4 separate regions of the Homo sapiens genome follow, and all the other regions are linked to region 1. The links are contacts of gene promoters, found by promoter capture Hi-C in blood cells and fetal thymus (Javierre and others, 2016). All regions are on one chromosome and are shown on one strand. The core of a region is centred on a gene start or on the middle of the fragment in contact, and the rest is flanking DNA. Distances in the headings are between cores, read along the strand shown. Region 1 holds the start of ZNF22 (zinc finger protein 22). Region 2 overlaps BMS1 (BMS1 ribosome biogenesis factor). Region 3 has its middle 74 kb from the start of LINC00839. Region 4 overlaps LOC105378268 (a long non-coding RNA gene).

Region 1 (3,844 bases), core at 353-2,852:
AAAAGAACTTTTACCAGAAAGTGGAATGAAACTGAGTAGAAAACGCATGGTAGGTAGGACACAAGAAAAGGAGAGGGGGGAGAAAATGAGTTTACATGTAAAACTAGGATGGAATTTTTAGAATACCCAAATGCTGCAAAATTCAAAATTTCAAATGATTTTATTTATTTATAAGGCTGACTTGTGGCTATTTAAAATAACGGCCAAAACAAACCAACAAAAACCCCTACAAACCCCACATAGGTGGCAATGTCGGAAAATCTAGAACTTCAAAAGCAATAAAATTATTGGAACTATTTTTCATTATCTTGTGTCAGAATGTGGAATTTAAAATAGAAACAATTATTCTGGGTTTCTTTGCATACAAACATATAAAGCAAATAAATGAAAACAAAAACATAATTTTTCTTGCCTTCCTTTCATCTTATTGTATAATTGAGACTTTAGGTCCAGGACTTTATCTGGATATTTAATAATTACATCAGCTGTAATTATGGTCAGCGTAAGAGTAAGCCGCATATAACACAAGATTACAGTTAGGACTACCCACTCCTTAACTTAAGCAAATATTTACAGAACATCTACCACACAGGAGACATTGTGTTAGGTACATGGTGTTGGTGTTGCTTTTTTTTTTTTTTAATAACTATAATGGTCATTATACATAAAAGCACACGCATTTAATACAATGGAAGTCAGATCTAGTCAGAAACTCAGACTGTCAAATCCACCTACGGATGAGGCAATCATACTAGTATGTGCCAGACACTGTGTAACTTGATTCTGTGCTAGCTCTTTAATTCTCCTGGCACCTTTATGCAGTTATTTCCGTTTTAAGTTAAGGAAACGAGGGCACAATGCTAGAAGGCACTGGCCGGGTTCCCAGACCCTAGCAGTTTGACTCCAGAGCCTGTACTCTTAGTGGCAGCCACATCTTCCATTGCTCAGTCCAGCGCGGCGACCCGTGCTTTGCATAGCTCCCCAGCAGGGGCAAGCACGAAGTTAAACCTGAGTGACAGAAGCTGCTGTTCTTGCACACCCAGCTAACTGGAATGTGCCTCAGTTTCCTCGTAAAATGGGGAGGGTAATGATAAAGTGGCAACACCATCAAGATGTTAGAAGTTGCAATGAGTCTGAATCTGAAAACCGCTCAGAGCAGCCCTGTGCTGCCTAAGCATTTGTTCCACGTATCTAGTCCTCGAACGCTCCGAGCGACGGAAGGGGCCGGGGCTGCTGCTCACCCGCCCAGTTCCACCCGCCGCGGGCCGCGCCTCGCCCGGGCCCCCAGTCCAAGCCTCCCGTTCCCAGCACTCCGCCGGCCGCTCCTCATTGACCCGGCCCGCCCGCCGCGCAGGCCGCGGCCCCACCCTGGGCCCGCGTGGCCCTCCCGCCCCCGCCCGGCGGCCAGGCCCTGCCCGGAGGCGGGAGACGCAAGCCACGCCATCGCCCGGGCCCGCGCCGCCCTCGTTGCGGCCAGCGCGCTCCCGAGCGGACCCGAGTATCCGACGCAGGCCCCGAGCGCCCCAAGTGCCCCAATCCCACTCACCGCGCGGGACCAGCCACCACTCTGGCTCGCTGGGCGCCTCCCGCGCCGCCGGAAGTGAGGGCCTCGCCGCGCTCTGGCGCCGCCGCGGTCGCTCTAGGAAAGTGGCGGAGCGACCCTCTATGGTCCCGGGCCCACCCGAAAGCGTTGTTCGTTTCTTCCTGTGGTTTTGTTTTCTCCTCCCCCCAACTCGGAAGGCGTCCTGTGACCCCCGGGACCTCAAGAGCTGTAACCGCCCCTGTGTGTGGTCGAGGCTTTTGAAACCAAACTCTAGCCTCTCCAACCTAGAAACTGCATACTTTCCACAAATTTTGAGATTTTTGAGACCCTGGTACTTTTCACGAAGTCACCTTAATTATCACCAAAAAGCTCCTGCAAGATGGGAGTGGTTATACTCCATTTACAGGAAAGGAACCAAGGCTCAGAGAAGAAATGTGCTCCGTTCACCGTGTGTAAGCGGACGACCCAGAATTGGAATGGTTCTTTGTGGCTCCAAAGTCTGATTTCAACACACCCCTTTTGTTGCTCATTAGTAATGATCTCTCTTTGTTCTTATTCCTTCCAGGCTCCTCCTCAGCCATCCTGGCCGTGCTCAGTCATCTGACCAGCTGACCTCCGTGTTCCCCCACTCCCTGGGGAGCTCCTCCGCCTTTTGGCTTCCAATGCTATTGCTGCATGCTGAAGACTCCCGCATTGGTAACTCCAGTCTGACTGTGGGACATAAATGTTATTGAACTTTAGACTTGTATATCGAACTGATTACTCAAGAGCTGCATTTGCATGTGTAATGGACATCCCAAACCTAACATACCCCCCAAATGAATTCCTGATATCTACCTAACCTGTTCTTGCAACAGTCTTCTTCCCAGGGATGGGTGAAGATCCCATCATCTTTCCAGTTGCTCAAGCCAAAAACCTTGATGTCACTGTTGTCTCTTCTTTTTTTCATCCAAAATTCACCTGTGATTTATCCACAAATTCTGTCGGCTTCATCGTTAAAATATATTCATTATCAAGCCACTTTCAACACTTCCACTGCTATAACCACCAAGCCACCTTCATCCACCTTCTGGATTATTATATTGGCTTCCAGACGGGTTGCCCTACAGTCTATTCACGGCCCCAGAGTAATCCTCTTAAACCTAAGTTAGATCATGTCATTCATTTGTTCAAAACCTTCAAAGGCTTCCCAACTTATTAGAGCAAAGCCAAGGACCTCGCAGTGGCACCCGATGCCTCTCATGATCTGTCTCTTTAGTTCTTTATTGTGTCTGCAGTGCTGAAAACAGTGCTCAGCAGGGAACAGACACTCAGTAAATAGCTGTTGAATGAATGAATTTATAAGATGCCTTATTGTTTACAAAGTACTTTTACATCTTATCTTCTGGTTATTCATCTTCACCATAGTCTCATGAAGCACAGATTATCATATCTGTCTTGCAAATCAGTAAACTGAAGCAAGAGAGGCTGACCTGCCTGAAGTAATACAGTGGTTTGTTGGTGGAGGCTAAACTAAGTCATAGGTTCATTCTCTTAAGTTGGGGCTTTCTGCTCTGTAGGGAGCTGTCTCTGCATATGGCAAAGCACAAAGCTGAATGAGGTCTGGACAAAGAAGCTCCACTCGCAATCTAGAGAGTATCTGGACTATTGCAGTGATTAAATGAGGTAATGTAAGGCACTTAGCACAATGTATAACACAGAAGAAATGAGAGTCGTTGTTACTTTTATTATTAAATTGTTATAAGTTGGTTGATGCTGGTGGTTGGAGAGTTTGGGGTAAAGGGCAATGGCCAGAGATCTAGAAATGGTTTAGGAAAAGCGTCAGGAGCAAACATGACCCGTTGGGACTGTCTGCTCTATGTACACTAAAATAAAAAGATAATTTTTAAAAAGCCATTTTGTTAGTAAGGTAGTTACTAATTAAAACTAACTCCTTTAATGTCTACATAAAGATGGATTATCCCTTTTTCCTATACCTGAAAACAACTGGGCCAGCCATAGAAGGGCCAGAGGTATGTCAACTAAAGCATTGGGTAAACGAGGATGGATTTTTTAAAAAGAGAGAGACGAAAGTCAGGAAATAAAGGGGTGTGTGTCCCTAAGTGTGGACAGAGTCCTGGGCAGTAAGGATGGAGAGGAGGGAGAGCCAGAAAAATATATGAAGGAGAGGAGGGTAAAGGAGAATGGGAAAAAGACAGGGAGAGAAAGCAGGTAGGGTTTTATGCCTTCAGCCTAGCTGTTAGTATAATAATAGTTAACACTTATTGAGTGCTTATTGTGTGCCAGGCACTGTTTGCAGCA
Region 2 (3,509 bases), core at 267-2,766, 2.2 Mb after region 1:
CTATCAAAACTTCCCGTATTCCCACTAGAGCTACAAACATCCTCAAACATAATGCAACAGAATATTCATAACAATAATTACTTCTAAATTAAGGTAAAAATAAAACAGTCAAGAAAATATGGGCTGGGCACAGTAGCTCTCGCCTGTAGTCCCAGCAACTTGGGAGGCCAAGGCAGGCGGATCCCTTGAGCCCAGGAGTTTTGAGACCAGCCTGGGCCATATGGGGAAACCCCATCTCTACAGAAAAAAAAAAAAAAGGAAAAAAAAGAAAAATTAGCCAGGCGTGGTGGCATACACTACTCAGGAGGCTAAGGTAGGAGGAATGCTTGAACCTGGGAGGTAGAGGCTGCAGTGAGCCGTAATCACACCACTGCACTCCAGCCTGTACCACAGAGTAAGACTCTGTCTCAAAAAAGGGAAAAGAAAATATGGATGCTCCAAAGATAAAGAAAAGCCTCAATCCAACTATATTATTGCAATAACAAGAGATTTCAGAGTGTACATTGCCATTCTACCACTGGAAGTTTGTTTCATTTTCCCTCAAACTCGGAAAGGTCACCATCTCCCAAAGCAGACAATTCTCACAGGAAAAAGAGAAAACTCGCACTTCCACCAGAATGTGGCTTCATAAGGCAAGCATATGCACCTGGCACATAGGAGGTGCGTGCTATCTGTTAAATGATGTGTTCACGGTGACTAGGCCTGCTAGGCCCTTCCAAGGAACATGTTTGGCAAAGCCAAAGAGCAGTCAGGATAAGACATAGTGAACATTATCATTTCTCATACAAAAAATGGAGGAGGAAACCAGGAAGAAAAGGAAAGCATCACCTTAAGAGGCTGGACCACACATCCTTCTACACGGAGGAAGAGGACTGTGGCTGGTGTCGCAATCGAGCAGCAAAGCTTGATTTTCCAGCCCGAGTGCTGGGTTCGAGTATCTTCCTGCCTTGGAACCTCCCAGAGTGCTGGGAGGAAATGTGAACATTATCACATCCTTATCTCTGGGAACTTACCCTTTTCTGAAGCTATAGCCAACTTAGTAATACTAAGTATAAGAGAAGTCCCATGATATGACAATATTTAACATGTTCCACTCAAGAAAACAACAAACGCATGCATGTCCCTCAGATGACAACAGCCACGCCAACTCTGTGTCTGTGGTGGCATCTCCTACCTGACACAATCGTCACAGGGCCTCTGATCTCAGTCAACTTCTGCCGGGTAAAGTTCCGAATGAGGCATTGTATCAAAGTGCTCTTTCCAACTTTTGGAGGTCCCATCACCACTACCACTATTGGTGGGGGCTCTAGTGGAGTTCGATCAACCACTGGAATATGATGCTTTTTTGTCTTCAAATCCTGAGTCCTATTCATTAAAAAATAAACAAATAAATAAATAGTAAACTCATTTTCAAAATAGAGTAAAAGGTATCAACCTTATAAGTAGACTTTTTTGGTACACTTATAGCTATGAGTACTTTAGCACATTTTATAGAGAGTACAACAGACAATATATAAATATAATTAACTTGTCAATTATTAACTTGCTAACTTCTGGCCCCATCCAAATAATTGCTGTTCAATAAAGATGTAACAAGATGACTTCAATACTATAGAGAGCGAAAATTAAACACTCCTTAAATCTGACTGTTTTAAGAGTGATTTTAATAGTTTTTTAAAAAACCAAAAGGTAAATAGCGAGGCAGTACATCATAGCAGATAAGAGCAGAGGCGCTGGAGTTACATTTAGCTCTCCTACTTACTGGTTATATGATTGGAGGTAACTTGTTTTCTTGATCTCAGTTTTCTTACCCATAAAATGAGGGCAAGAATGATTCCTACTCTGGTAAGGCTGCTGGAAGGATTTAGTTGAATAATGTTTAAAGTACACTGCTAGGCATATCACAAGGGCTCACTAAATAAAGCTATGTTAGTATTAAATATTGTAATTTTTGTATTTTATATTACAACTATGTAAAACATACCTGGGGGGAAAAAGCACACTTATCACCATAGAAACAGTTTAAAATTTAGGAACAAACAAAGTCTATAAATTCTTGTATCCTGGGCAATAAACACTAACCAGTATGCAGATGCTGGAGGCAAGGCAGCTTCTATGGGAAAAGCTTCTCACGTTTTAGTGAAAGCCACACACCATGAATCTCCATGTCCTTTGGAGCTGGACTAGACTCGTGAATCCAAATGTCACCTGTGAGAGGCTCCTACTATTTAAAAAAAGAATCAATGGAAGAATGACCAGACCGTAGCCTAACATACCTGTGAAAGGATCGAGCCATCCGCACAGCAGACTGAACTGCAAAAGCTTTGGGATTTCTCTTCCGGGCATCTTCTTCGTCTCCTAGCTGGAGATCCTGCAGAAGCCGCTTCTTTTTCTTTGCAGCTTTGGGTCCACTGTTTTTCTTTCTGTGTTTCTTCTGGTCCTTAGCCTCCATAGTGGCTATTTACCAATAACAAGTAACTCTAACCTACAAGGAAGAAGGTTGGGGTAAGGAGATGGGAGAAGCATTTTACAATCCAGGCAATACCCAGGGAAAAACAGTAAATTTCATTTATTTCTTTATGAAGAGATGATGTATTTGTTCACTGAACAAGGGTAGAAACTGCTTAACCATCCCCAATTTCATTTCTCTCTGTTATGCTATAAATTAGATGAGTTACCTCTCTTAAGATTACATTTTATGGTTAAGTTACTTTTTATTCATCTTAAGTGTCAACATCAGCAGTATCTATTTCTGCAAGGATAGAAATATACTATATCTGTACTTTTCAGCCATTTAGCCATTAGCCACATGTGGTTACTTACAATATACTTAGGGAAACTGAAAAAATGAGTTTTTAATTAATTTCATTCTAACTCCAAATAGTCACATGTGGCTACCATACTGGACAGCTCAGACCCAGGTATCAACTGGACTGATGAAGTGGTTTCCTAACTTAAACTAAAACTTAAATTTTAATAAAAAAATGTGAAACGTTTTTATGAACCTCCAATATGATCGCAGTATTACTTTTAGTACCTGTTGACTCTGTAAAACTCCTAAATTACAACTTATCTACATACATTTGAAAAATAGAAATAGCTGTACGTGTGAGATAGGACTGGTTCTAGATGACACCTGGAGACCCCATGAACTTACAGAGACCCTTCCAGTGATTTCTGAGTTACCTGGGAATCTGTGGCTAATAAATTGGCAATCACTGAATTAGTGAGTTATTTTAGGAAATCGGGCTGCATAAAATCTGACAGCTTGATTAAAAAAAAAAAGCGGAGCAGGATGCCATTTCATTCAATTAAGGTACTGTATTCATTCCGTTGAATAAATATTTGTGTCTGTCTACGATGTGCTAGGCACTGTGCCAGTAAGTGGATACAGCTATTATCTGACTTGCAGAGGAAATCCAAACTATTATCTTCCGCGCCACGCAATAAGGGCGACATTGGAAGGCTGCACAGGGTGCTACTGGAGCACGGAGGTGAGTCAGAGGCTT
Region 3 (3,536 bases), core at 570-3,069, 2.5 Mb after region 1:
AGTCGCTTGAGGACTCAGGCAGGTGTTTGCTGCATTGACAACAGAGTAAGAAAAAATCCGTTTGCTTTTTAAAATCCAAAGATGGTTTTGAGAACCTGAAACCAAGTTAGAGCAAGTTCGTTTTCCTTCCAAAAAAACTGGGCTCTGCCGGGCGCAGTGGCTCACGCCTGTAATCACAGCACTTTGGGAGGCTGAGGCCGGCAGATCACGAGGTCAGGAGTTCGAGACCAGCCTGACCAACATGGTGAAACCCCGTCTTTACTAAAAATACAAAAAATTAGCCCGACGTGGTGGTGCGCACCTGTAGTCCCAGCTACTTGGGAGGCTGAGGCAGGAGAATCACCTGAACCCAGGAGGCAGAGGTTACAGTGAGCCAAGACTGTGCCATTGCACTCCAGCCTGGGTGACAGGGCAGGACTCTGTCTCAAAAAAGCAAACAAAAAAAAACTGGGCTGAAAAATACCACATCACTTTTTTCAAAACCTTGTTGGGATTCTCTGGTTTATAATAAAGATTAAAACCTGAATATTTTTGTTTAGCATCAGTTTTAATGAAAGTATTATGTTCCATTCTTTGGCTTTTCCTAACTTGCTTAATTAGTTTAATATATTGGTTTGCATACTCTGTTAGAGTACAGCATAAGTTGTTTATAAGTCAGTAGAAAACCAAACGTTTTCACATTTGAAAACTAATGTGTCCAAGCAGTACATAACCATGCCAGAGTCATGCATGGACGTGTGAGTATCTCCCTTTTAGAGATGTTTTGCCAGCTGGGAGGTGGACATTTTTAGGCAAGTGACATTTCTCATGTTCTTTTCTTGTTTGTAAGCTACACCCTCTCGGTTTTCTCTGCTCTGCCAACACTAGTGGAATATGATCACATCCCAGGTAAGTTGTTTATTTTTTCACAGTTTTGCTTAAAACTAATTATTGAGGTTTAAAAAATGTCTATACATTCATATGAAAGTAGAAATAACATCCTGGAAAATATAGAGGAGAGGTCACATTACAGTTCATGGGTCAAATGCAGCCTACTGTCTGTTTTTTTATGGTCCACAAATGAAGGATGGTTTTTATACTTTTAGGTGGCTGAGGGAAAAAAACCAAGAGTATTATTTTGCTTGGAAATTGTATGAAATTCAGACTTCATTGTCTATGAATTTTTATTGGGACTCAGCTATACTCATGTATTTATGTATTGCCTGTTGGTACTTTCACACTACAAAGGCAGAGTTGACTGGTTGCAGCAGAGACTGTAATGGCCTACAAGCCTAAAATATTTACTGTGTGACTCTTTACAGAAAATGTTTGCTGATTTCTGATAGAGAGTTGATGAAGAGTAAGACAAAAATGTCATATAGGTGAATGCAGATCTTGTGATCTTACAGTTGTGAAACTGGAACATAAAACAGTTTGTCGGTGGGCTTTATTAGGTGACATTGTGAAACTTCTGATGACAGTCTTGCAGGTACTTAAAAAAGTAGTACAACAAAGTGAGTAATTCATGTGCAGTCCAGGGGAAAACTTAACAGATAGCAAAAGAAAGTATATGATTAAAAAATTCAAATAGGCCGGGCACATTGGCTCACGCCTGTAATCCCAGCACTTTGGAAGGCTAAGGCGGGTGGATCATGAGGTCAGGAGTTCGAGACCAGCCTGACCAACATGGTGAAACCCTGTCTCTACTAAAATTACAAAAATTAGCTGGGCATGGTGGTGCGTGCCTGTAATCCCAGCTAGTCAGGAGGCTGAGGCAGGAGTATCACTTGAACCCAGGAGGTGGAGGTTGCAGTGAGCCGAGATTGTGCCACTGCGCTCCAGCCTGGGCAACAGAGTGAGACTCCGTCTCAGGAAAAAAAAAAAAAAAAAAAAAAATCCAATGAATTGTGTAGCATTAGGACTCATGGTTGTTTAAAGAAACAGTCCTGGTAGGCTAGGGTGATCATGGGTTGTTAGGATGTGGCAGGCTTTGTGACAGCCTTAGAGACTGGGCAGAACTGGAATATTTGCAATAACTTTCGAGGGATTCTACCTAAAAAAAAAATTGTGGTAAAACACACATCACATGAAATTCACAAGCCATTTTAAAGTATAGAATTCAGTGACTTTAGTACATTCACAATGTTGTACAACCATAACCACCATTTATTTCTGGAATATTTTCATCACACCAAAAGGAAACACATCACCCTTAATAAGCAGTATTGTAACTTAATAAGCAGTTGCTCCCTTTTCCCCGCTGTGCTCCCAGCCCCTAACAACCAATAATCTCCTTTCTGTCTTTATAGATTTGCCTATTTTGGATATGGCATATGAATGGAATCATACAATTTGTGTCTGATCTCTCACTTAGAATAATGTTTTCAAGACCCATTTATGTTGTAGTTGTATATCAGTACTTTGTCCCTTTTTATGACTGAACAATATTCTATTATATGGATATATCACCTTTTGTTTATCCATTCATCTGTTGATGGACATTGGGGGTCATCCTGTGTTTCGCTATTGTGGAGAGTGCTCCTATGAGCATTCATGTACAAATATTTGTTTGAATACATGCTTTCAATTGTTTTGGGTATATACGTACAAGTGAAATTGCTGGGTGATATGGTAATTTTACATTTAATTTATTGTGAAACCGACAGTTTTCCACAGCAGGGTGCTTTGCAATCCATAGGAATTTTTAGTTAGCTTTTCTATTTCTGCAAAAAAGTATGTTGAGTTTTTGATAAGTATTGGATTGGGTAAGTATTAGAGTGGGTGATAACACTTTGGGGAGTGTTATCTTAATATTAAATCTTATAATCAATGAACATAAGATTTTTTTTCCCTAGGTCTTCTTTCCTTCATTAATATTTTGTAGTTTTCAGTGTACAAGTGTTGCATATCCTTGCTTAAATTTATTAAATAGTTTTTCATTTAAATGCTATCGTAAATTATATGAAATTCAGACTTCAGTGTCTATAAAGTTTTATCGGGACTCAGCCATACTCATGTATTTATGTATAGCCTGTGAGTACTTTCACACTACGAGGGCAGAGTTGACTGGTTGCAGTAGAGACTGTGATGGCCCACAAGCCTAAAATTTCTTTTGTTTAAATGCTATTGTAAGTGGAATTGTTAATTTGCTTTTTGACTGCTCATTGTAATGAGTACACAAATAATTTTTGAGTGTTGATCTTGTATCTTGTAATTTTGCTGAATTTGTTTCCTACTTCTAGTAGTTTCTTTGTGGATTCTTTAGTATTTTCTGCATATAAGATCATGTCATCTGCAAACAAAACTATTTCATTTCTTTCTTTCTAATTTGGGTTTATTTATTTATTTACTTAGCCTAATTCCTCTGGCTGAAATTTTTAGTACAATGTTGAATATATGTGGCCAAAGCAGGCATCTTTATTTATTGTTAGTTTTTTGCTTTAGCAATCTTAACTATTTTTGGATGTACAGTTCAGAAGCAGTGTTAAGTATATTCATATTGTACATCTAATCACCAGAATTTTTTCATCTTGGGAAATTGAAATTCTCTACCCATT
Region 4 (3,555 bases), core at 955-3,454, 2.4 Mb after region 1:
TAGAAGAGAGGATTTTGAATGCTTACAACACACACACAAATGTCTGAGGTGAGGGATATGCTAATTAACCTGATTTGATCATTATACATTTTATACACATGTCAAAATATCAGTCTATATCCCCTAAATATGCACAATTATTAGGTGTCAACGAAATGTAAAAGGGAAAAAGGTACAAAAACCGAAGAAGAAATGAGAGGAAAAAATGAGCCTCCAGAGTTAATCAAATTCACCGTAAAAATGAATAGCTGTGGCCAGGTGTGGTGGCTCAGGCCTGTAATCTCAGCACTTTGGGAGGCCGAGACTGGTGGATCACCTGAGGTCGGGAGTTCGAGACCAGCCTGAACAACATGGAGAAACCCCGTCTTTAGGAAAAATACAAAAAATTAGCCAGGCACGGTAGCACATGCCTGTAATCCCAGCTACTTGAGAGACTCACTTGAACCCGGGAGGCAGAGGTTTCAGTGAGCCAAGATCATGCCATTGCACTGCAGCCTGGGCAACAAGAGCAAAACTCTGTCTCTGTCTCAAAAAAAAAAAAAAAAAAAAAAAAAAATAGAATAGCTGTGATGGTTAATGGTTAATTTTATGTGTAAACTTGACTTGGTCACAGGGTGTCTGGATTAAACATTACTTATGGGTGCATCTGTGAGGGTGTGTACAGATGAGATTAGCATTTGAATCAGTAGACTCAGTAAAGCAGATTGCCCTCCGTATGTGTATGGACATCATTCAATCCCCTAAGGGCCTGGATAGAACACAAGGCAGAGAGGAGGAATTCACCCATATTTTCTGCCTCATTGTTGAGTTGGGACATTTCATCTTATCCTTTCCTGTCCTTGCACTGGGATTTACACCATTGGCTTCCGTGGTTCTCAAGCCTTTGGACTCATACCAGAATTACACCACCAGCATTCTTGGATTTCCAGCTTGCAAATGACAGATTGTTGGACTTCTTAGCCTCCATAGACATGTGAACCAATTTCTCATCATCAATGTCTCTTTCTCCCTTACTCCCTCCTATTGGTTCTGTTTCTCTGGAGAATCCTGATTAATACACTGGGAATAAACATTTCCCCAAGCCCATACCATAGGTGTATATTAGTGTTTTTTACAATCTTTTCAAATCTTAAACTTAAAAATATTTTATTTATTTACAATTTCTCCCAATTGGAAACAACTTGCATATCCCTGGACTGGGGAATGGACAAGGAAGCTGGTAAATCCATACCAAGAAATAGGAGTCAGCAATGTCAGAGTTGACAAATTACTCTTCAGAAAGCTTTAGTTCCCTGTTGTTTGTTGCTCAAGACCAACTTCCTTGTACTTCCTTGTCTCCAAGCTACCTGTTCTGTAAACAACCTTCCCGCCTTTGCCATGCCCAGACAAGTCCGGATATGCCTTCCCGCTTAGTAATGGACAGTCCCCCTTCCTTCCCGCCTAATAGACCCTGTCAATTTTAAACCTTAGCCAATCGAGTTAGCTTTGATTGTGAGGTCTAATCCCAGCCAATGGGGAAGGGACACAGAAGTGCTAGGAACTGCATCAGGGATAAAAACCCCTGCCCTGCCCTTCTCGGTGTTCTCTTGTGATCATGACTGGCATAACCTGCACCCTTCTGCAGAAGTAAATTTCTCTTGCTGAGGAATTTTCTGCCTTTGTGCTGGTTTTCTCTGCGGCACCAGGCACTTGTTTCTAACAGCAAGAAAAACAGAAGTATTGGTACACAAAACAACACGGAAGGATCTCAATTGCATTGTGTTAAGTAAAAGATACCAGATTCAAAGACTGCATATTGTATGATTCCATTTATATAATATTCTAAAAAAGGCAAACATACAGGCCCAAAGACTAGATAGTGGCTGCAAGAGGCTAAGAGTGGTTAGAGAATCTGACTTTCAAAAGGTAGCATGGAGGAATTTTATTGACAGGTGAAATAATTTTGTATCTTGCTTGTGGTGGTGGTTACACAAATCTGTGCGTTTGTCAAAACTCATAAAATTATGCAACAAATAAAGTGAACTTTTCAGTATATAAAGCATAAATTTAAAAATGTAAATTTCAATATGTTTCACATATTTTTACTCAAATATTTGCATTTCCTTTTTTCTTTTTTTCTTTTTTGAGATGCAGTCTCACTCTGTCACCAGGCTGGAGTGTAGTAGTGCGATCTTGGCTCACTGCAACCTCCACCTCCCGGGTTCAAGCGATTCTCCTGCCTCAGCCTCCTGACTAGCTGGGACTACAGGTGCGCACCACCACGTCCAGCTAATTTTTGTATTTTTAGTACAGAAGGGGTTTCACCATTTTGGGCAGGATGTTCTCAATGTCTTGACCTCATGATCTGCCCGCCTCAGCCTCCCAAAATGCTGGGACTACAGGCGTGAGCTGCCATGCCCGGCCATATTTGCATTTCTTTCAATTCTCATAATGGACTTAAAAAGTTTTGCTGGAATGGAGCTGCTTATTTTTCTCTATTATAAAATGTAACTGATATTAAATTTATAGTTTCTGTCTTTGGTATCACATCCCTTTTTGGTTTTTTTTGAGACAAAGTCTCACTTTGTCACCCAGGCTGGAGTGCAGTGGTGCCATGATGGCTTACTGCAACCTGGGGCTCAAGTGATCGTCCAACCTCAGCCTCCTGAGTAGCTGGGATCACAGGCGCCTGCCTACATGCCCAGCTAATTGTTATTTTTAATTTTTTGTAGAGACAGGGGTCCCACTATAACGCCCAGGCTGGTCTTGGACTCTAAGGATCAAGTGGTCCTCCTGCCTCCACCTCCCAAACTGCTGGGATTACAGGTGTGGGCCACTGTGCCTGGCCCACATGTCAATTTTCAAAAATTTATACTCGTTTAAATGTTTCAATACTGTATACATGTGAATTTTATCACGTGTGATCTATATATATCTCTATATTCCAAATTGTTAGGAATGACATGCTCTTTGGAATACTCCATTCTTTCCCTCACTGTTTTGAAATGCTGTATTTACTACACATTAAAGAATACTCTCAATCATGGTGTCTTATTTCCATGGAGCAGGTGCCAAACTACTTTGAATAGAGCAATATTATATATATAGATAGATATAGATATTTCTCAGGCATTTTTTCAAGCTTTTTAAAACGTATAATGGCTGTTCATTTAGTTTTTTACTTACTCTGGATAAAGTTGACAATGCTTTTGTAAAGTACACAATACACTAAAGATCAAAGAGAAAAAATACATAAAAAAATTTGTTGATATTCTTTTAGGAATTTTGTCTTCCTAAGAAAGGTACAGATAGACTAAATGTATTTCCATTTAGTCAAGCAATTTTAATGTCACAGGGGAAATCATGTGACATTTATTTTCTTCTTTCGGATTATGTCTATTTTCTGACTTTTCAATTTCCGTTTATTGCGTTAACGATTTTGATGAAGTAGCTTTCCTGTGGCACCTCCCCCATCCCCCCCATCCCTGCTCTCAAAGAATCGCTGATAGTGTCAAAGTCTTTTAAACTGTATCAATAAGATCTACTTCCTAACATTTAAAGTGAAACTGACACACA

Evidence for each region. Contacts are between HindIII fragments. The CHiCAGO score rates a contact against its expected background, and 5 or more counts as called.
Region 2: a contact is called between a fragment that was not itself captured here and the fragment with the promoter of ZNF22 in region 1, in 2 of 17 cell types (activated CD4 T cells and total CD4 T cells). The highest score is 8.3, in activated CD4 T cells.
Region 3: a contact is called between a fragment that was not itself captured here and the fragment with the promoter of ZNF22 in region 1, in 1 of 17 cell types (naive CD8 T cells). The highest score is 6.2, in naive CD8 T cells.
Region 4: a fragment that was not itself captured here is called in contact with the fragment with the promoter of ZNF22 in region 1 in 1 of 17 cell types (total B cells); the score reaches 6.2 in total B cells.

What each region holds. Positions count from the first base shown.
Region 1 is chr10:44,998,681-45,002,524 of GRCh38, reverse strand. It overlaps ZNF22 (zinc finger protein 22), which reads right to left and starts at 1,602. Exons shown (of 2, transcript NM_006963.5): 1 at 1,547-1,602. LOC124902530 reads right to left here. Exons shown (of 3, transcript XM_047426129.1): 3 at 142-1,745. The coding sequence ends at 1,116. It overlaps ZNF22-AS1 (ZNF22 antisense RNA 1), which reads left to right and starts at 1,722. Exons shown (of 4, transcript NR_126421.2): 1 at 1,722-1,995; 2 at 2,109-2,239; 3 at 3,103-3,208. RefSeq lists an enhancer at 986-1,486 and a silencer at 1,213-1,562. The HindIII fragment of the contact is 6,687 bases long and covers 1-3,844 here.
Region 2 is chr10:42,783,338-42,786,846 of GRCh38, reverse strand. It overlaps BMS1 (BMS1 ribosome biogenesis factor), which reads right to left. Exons shown (of 23, transcript NM_014753.4): 2 at 2,277-2,485; 3 at 1,175-1,365. The coding sequence starts at 2,452. Among named protein-coding and RNA genes, the nearest start is that of BMS1, 2.3 kb to the right of the region's middle. The HindIII fragment of the contact is 1,222 bases long and covers 906-2,127 here.
Region 3 is chr10:42,547,909-42,551,444 of GRCh38, reverse strand. It overlaps the pseudogene ZNF37BP. Among named protein-coding and RNA genes, the nearest start is that of LINC00839, 74 kb to the right of the region's middle. The HindIII fragment of the contact is 3,766 bases long and covers 1-3,536 here.
Region 4 is chr10:42,638,874-42,642,428 of GRCh38, reverse strand. All of the region lies in intron 1 of LOC105378268 (a long non-coding RNA gene), which reads right to left. Among named protein-coding and RNA genes, the nearest start is that of ZNF33B, 2.1 kb to the right of the region's middle. RefSeq lists a silencer at 554-848. The HindIII fragment of the contact is 1,839 bases long and covers 1,285-3,123 here.